Regions from separate parts of the Homo sapiens genome. Here region 1 is linked to region 2. Evidence: promoter capture Hi-C in 16 types of primary human blood cells and fetal thymus (Javierre and others, 2016). All regions are on one chromosome and are shown on one strand. The core of a region is centred on a gene start or on the middle of the fragment in contact, and the rest is flanking DNA. Distances in the headings are between cores, read along the strand shown.

Region 1 (2,780 bases), core at 47-2,546, 3.4 Mb after region 2:
TAGAGGGAATGTGGCTCCTTGCCCAGCCGGTCTTCCAGTGACTCTACCTGCTTTACTGGGATTGTGCTAGACCCGTTCTCACAGTGATATTCACTCATACCCTAAACCATCTTATGAATACAACTTCCTCTATTTTATAGATGAGAAAACTGAAACTCAGAGTTTTGGAACTTCGCCAACATGGTATAGCAGGCAAAACAGGAACTGGGATTCAAACACCAATCCCATGACACCAAAACTCTTTACACTATCACAAGGCCACCCCACTTCCTCCTCAGCACTGACAGCTTCCCCAGCCTGCCTTCCTCACTACACCGCCCCCAGGTGGTCCCTCATCTGCAGGGGAGTTATGTTTGACCCCACTCCTGGATTCCCATCAAGAGACCTTTCTTGCCCTTCCTCCTGCTGCCTGGTCCTTGCTCTGGCAGAGACTTAAACTACTTAAAGAGTTGAGGGGAATATAAGAGTGGCTGCCTTCTGGATATTTGCAGAACAAGTTTTGTCAGCTATATCTAAGGGGCTTTCCCAAAAAAACCAGTTCTCACTCTCACCCCTCCCTCCACTTCCTCACCATCCGGTGTAGCTGTGGCGATGGAGCCGGCGGCATCGGTGGTGATTAAGTAGCTTTCACTCAGGTAGGGAAATCGGTCCCTCAGCTCCTCGATCAGGATCCTCCCCGCGTCCTCCTGGTCCCCACCGCTCAGAGATAGGCCCTAGGCCACGCGGGAGGTGAGCGAGTGTGCAGAGCCCCAGCCCCAGCTCTTTTCTCAACCCCCGCCCCCTCCTGATGCCTGATTCCTGTTCTCCCCATCTGGCCATACCCTGTTCACCCAGCCCCAGTCCTCCTTTCTCCCCACACAATGACCCCTCAGAAGGCTGTGGTTATAAGAACAACCTGGACTGGGGATGGACAGAAGAAAGAGGGGATTCAACAATGCCAGCTTTGGAGCTTGGAAGGGCAGTAGTGCTCTTAACAGAAAGATCAGGCAGCGGGGCAAGGTGAGGGGAGATGGAGAGAGGTAAGCTTGGTTTGGTATACACGAGGTTTGCCTGTGTCTGCAGAACATCTCACATATATGTCCAGGGAGTAGCTGGAGCTACCGCAACTTGGGAGAAAGATCTGAACCAGGAGTAAATAATAGCTAACATTTAATGAGTGCTTATGGGTCAGGCTCTATACTAACCACTTTGCAATGTATCATGCCATTTTACTTTCCCAACAACTCTGAGGTAGCTACTATTCACATTTTCCAAATGAGGAAACTGAGGCTTAGAGAAGGTGAGTAACCTACACAGGGTTACGCAGATACTGAGCAGCAAAGCTGGGATTCAAACCAAGGTCTCAGCAGCTCTCCAAAGCCCTGTGCTCTTCCAACACATTTGTAGTTTGTAGGTGGCAACTGAAGCCATGAGACTGGGTGAGATTATGACAGTTTTGACACCAGGGACTAAGTCTTGGAGGTCTTTCCCTCTGCAGTCATCAAACTCATCTAGTCCAAACTTGCTAGCTGTCTCAGTGTCACAGATGGCTGAATTCCCAGGCTCCGCCCCAGACTCACCAAGCTTCGCAGCGGTACCAGAGGATCCACCCCTGCTTTCCGTTTGGCCCTGTTCACCATCTCATTGATCCTCTCCACACACTTGTCTGTCCCGATCAGCTGGCCCCAATCAAGGGAAGAAGGAGTTACAAAGGCTTACAGAAGCTATGTTGCCCCCACAGGCTGCTCTGTGAGTCCCAGCCACCACCTCAACAGGAATTACAGAGAATAAAATCAGAACCAAGCCCTCTGATCCCCTCAGTGTGGTTTTTACCCAGTGGTTTGTGCTCAGTCCATCTGCTTCTGCCAGGATCTTCCCATCCTCTGAGACTAAAAGGACCTCGGATCGTGTGCCTCCCCTACAGAACACAAGAGGGCACTTGATCTTGCTCGGAAAAACCCACAGAGAGAGCTAAGCTTGTGCTGTCCACACTGGCAGAGCCCAGTATGATGGAGGAGACAGCTTCGACAAACTCAATCACCACTCCCAAACCCGCCTCTGTGGTTCAGTGTTTGAGTGCTCTTTAACTGAAACATAATTCTCACTCCTCTTCCCTTGGGGATGTCCTCCTTATCCTGCAAGACTCTACTTACGCTTCACCTAGTCCTCGAAACCTTTTCTGAGGTGTGGCCCACCCCAACGAATTAGTTAAGTCTCCGTTAGTTAAACCTTCATAGTGCCTCCAAAGTTATTAAAGTCTCCTCTGTATGAAGTGTGTGTTCAGACGCTTTGTGTCCGCCTCTCACTAGACTTCAAGCTCCACTGGGTCAAGCTCCTGATCACTTACTTACCCTCTCAGAACGAGCACAGGAGCTGGCACAGGCAATGCTCAGCAAACACTCCTAAGAAAAATGGCACATCTCTCTGCTTCCCTCACAATAGCTAAAGACTGCATTTCAAGATCCAGCTGCCAAGGTCTTCAAGACACCTTTGCTAGAAATGCTGACCAGATGGCAGGGTGACTTCATACATACTTAAGCAACTAAACCTTCAAATGTTGATTACTGGGGGTCACAGTAGTTCACAGGGAGATCTGTGGTGATGGGATATATGTTTCTTTATTGATCATTACTTTTAGGAATGGCAGAAGAAGACACTGAAGACCGCTCATCAAACTCAAAGAGGACATGAAATTTCAAGGGGGTAGTTAATACATGAGGTGGCAGATTCCACATCCAAAAGCATGTCTTGACGAACTGGAAGAAACGGGTCATATCTTACAGATGACTATAACAAGGATG
Region 2 (2,763 bases), core at 4-2,503:
ACTTTCGGGCTCAAGCAATCCTCCCACCTTAGCCTCCCGAGTAGCTGGGACTACAGGTGTGCACCACCATGCCAGGCCAATTTGTGTGTGTGTGTGCGTGTGTGTGTGTGTTTTGTTGAGACAGGGTTTCATGTTGCCCAGGCTGGTCTCCAACTCCTGAGCTCAAGAGCGATCAGTCCCCCTTGGCCTCCCAAAGTGCTAGGATTACAGGCTTGAGCCACTGCACCCAGCCATCTTTTTTTTAGACGTAGTTTCGCTCTTGTTTCCAAGGGTGGAGTGCAATGGTGGGGTCTCAGCTCACCACAACCTCTGCTTCCCGGGTTTAAGCGATTCTCCTGCCTCAGCCTCTCAAGTAGTTGGGATTACCGGCATGTGCCACCATGGCCGGCTAAATTTTGTATTTTTAGTAGAGATGGGGTTTCTCCATGTTGGTCAGGCTGGTCTCGAACTCCCAACCTCAGGTGATCCACCCTCCTAGGCCTCCCAAAGTGCTGCGATTACAGGCGTGAGCCACCGCGCGCAGCTGCTCTTTATGACTGCAAATATGGGGCACTTGCCTTGTGCCAGGCACTATGCTGGGCATTTTACCCTCATTCTTATAGGTAATCCTCATAGCAACTTGAGGAGTGGAGATAATTACAGTATTCCCACTGAACAAATGAGAAAACTGAAGCTCAGAAAGGCCAGTGACTGGACCAAGTTAATGATTGCACGGTTAGTTAGTGACAGAGCTGGGGTTTCACGACGTGTTTAAGCACCGCCCCATCAGTTGTGGCCACTAGGCTTAGGCGGATAGCCTCGCAGAGGAGCCTAGGTGGGGAGGGGGACGAAGAAGGAACATTTGGGACTGTGGGATGTTGAAATGGTCTCTTCGGAGGCTGCCGGGATTGAAACTGGGCAAGGTCCCAGGGCCCGAGTAGAGCCAGAGCGTGCTACGCGGCGATCCCTGAGCCACGGGGTTTTCAGCGCCCGGGAAGCCAGGCTTGCCAGGTTGGGGCGGCTGGCGGGGCAGGGCTTCTCGGTCCGTCCCAAGTCCAGGTAGGCGCTCGCGACCCGCGCGGGCAGGGAGAACGCGCTCCCACAGTGCTCGCGAGGTGCAGTGCGCCCCTGGGGGCTCCGGGGCCGTCGGGCCAGGTCGGCTTGGCGCCCAGGGACTGGCCGGACGGGCTGGGCCTTTGGCGGGGGTGGAAGAGGAGGTTGCCGCGCCCTGCCCGGCCCAGGTGTCGTCTCCGGGGGCGGGGTTTGGAGCCCCGCAGCGGGAGATTCCCGGCCGGACTGGCGGACGAGCGTCGAGAGACAGAAGCCGAGGAGAGGAGGCTAAGCCGGGCGGCGCGGGGAGCGCACTGAGCAGGCAAAGTCGCAGGGCCGCCAGCATGTTCTCCCGAAACCACCGGAGCCGGGTCACCGTGGCCAGGGGCTCCGCCCTGGAGATGGAGTTCAAACGCGGCCGCTTCCGACTCAGCCTCTTCAGCGACCTGCCCGAGGTGAGAGACTCGCGTCCCTGCCTTCCCCTTCCGCGGCTCCCGGGGGCAGCCCCAGCCACCTCGGCCTCCTTCCCTCGCCCGCGTGCACGCCGAGGGGCGGAGACGCACGGTCTGGGTACAAACCCGACGGAGTTGTTGACTTAAAAAGTAAGGTGTGGACGGTCTGCATTTTCATCGGATCCATGCTGCCCATTCCGCGGCCTGGTTAGGATTATCTGCCTGAGCCTGGAAAAAGCCCGGGTTGGTCTCAATTTGTAGGGCCCCAGCTCGACTCCTAAAATGTGCCTGAACCCCAAAATGTCTTGGGCATCCCCGGGCCAAGGGCGGTGGGCAGCTAGGCGGGCCCCAAGCGCTCGGACTCTTGGCCTGGGCTCCCGCTTGTTCCCCAGTCGCCAGCCCCATCCCACAACCTGTCGCAGCCATCTGGGCCAGCCTCTGTCATCAACCCCGACTTTAGGCCGGGGCCGCTCGCTTCCCCGAAGCCCAATTCAAAGGCTCCTCTATGCCCCTGCAGGGCTTTTAACTCCTTGGGGTTACTTCCCACACGCAAAATTTCCGCCTCCTTTTCTGGGGCCTAAGAGGAGTCCAGCCCCTAGGCTGAGCGTTTCCCCCGTCCGCCGTCCACGCGTTAACCTGTTGGATCCCCACCTGTAACGCCCTAAGGGCTAGGGCGGGGCTGAAGGTGTGTGGTTGAGCGGGGACTGAGAGGGCGAATAGCTACCCCGAAGACTCTTCTGTCCCCAAGGTCAGACTCACACTCGCCCAAGGAGAGCCCAGTTCCAAGCCTTCCCTTCCGGGTCTGGAAAGGGTTAAGTGAGGTGGGCCTTCCTTCCGCCCCCTCTACCTCCCGGCTGGGATTCCAGGCCTGGCTTCTGCCCTTTCCCTCCAGCCTGCCCAGAACAAAGAGGCTCTTTCACACCCTTGTCCCGGCGTCCCGGGCCTTCTCTGACTCAGAAGCTAGTGGACCTGGGGAGAGGGGGCCTTTGTCGCGTCCCCTTGCCCCCAAGCGACTGGGCCCGAGGAACCCGCGTGGGGCCAGCGTGGGGGAGTAAGGGGCGAGGCCCGGGACCAGGGGGAGGGGCCTGTGAGCTGGGGCCGCCCCTGGGATTAGCCCGGCCTTCGGGGACAGCTCGGAGGAGCTGGGGCGGAGCCGCAGGGCCTGGCGGCCGCCGAGTGAAGTGTGACTCCGTGGGCCTGGCGTGGAGGCGGGGGCGCTAGGCTGCAGCTGGCTCGGAATCGGGGCTGGTTTCCTGTCTGGAAGGGAAGGGGCCTGCAGAAG

The links. The method cuts DNA at HindIII sites, captures the fragments that hold promoters and counts their contacts. A CHiCAGO score of 5 or more calls a contact.
Region 1: a fragment that was not itself captured here is called in contact with the fragment with the promoter of RTKN in region 2 in 1 of 17 cell types (M0 macrophages); the score reaches 6.4 in M0 macrophages.

Annotation. Positions count from the first base shown.
Region 1 is chr2:71,069,619-71,072,398 of GRCh38, reverse strand. NAGK (N-acetylglucosamine kinase) reads right to left here. Exons shown (of 10, transcript NM_017567.6): 2 at 1,813-1,897; 3 at 1,560-1,658; 4 at 572-713. Among named protein-coding and RNA genes, the nearest start is that of NAGK, 2.4 kb to the right of the region's middle. RefSeq lists an enhancer at 1-11. The HindIII fragment of the contact is 539 bases long and covers 1,027-1,565 here.
Region 2 is chr2:74,440,427-74,443,189 of GRCh38, reverse strand. RTKN (rhotekin) reads left to right here and starts at 1,253. Exons shown (of 12, transcript NM_001015055.2): 1 at 1,253-1,484. The coding sequence starts at 1,374. RefSeq lists silencers at 1,163-1,242, 1,553-1,612, 2,328-2,637. The HindIII fragment of the contact is 8,784 bases long and covers 1-2,763 here.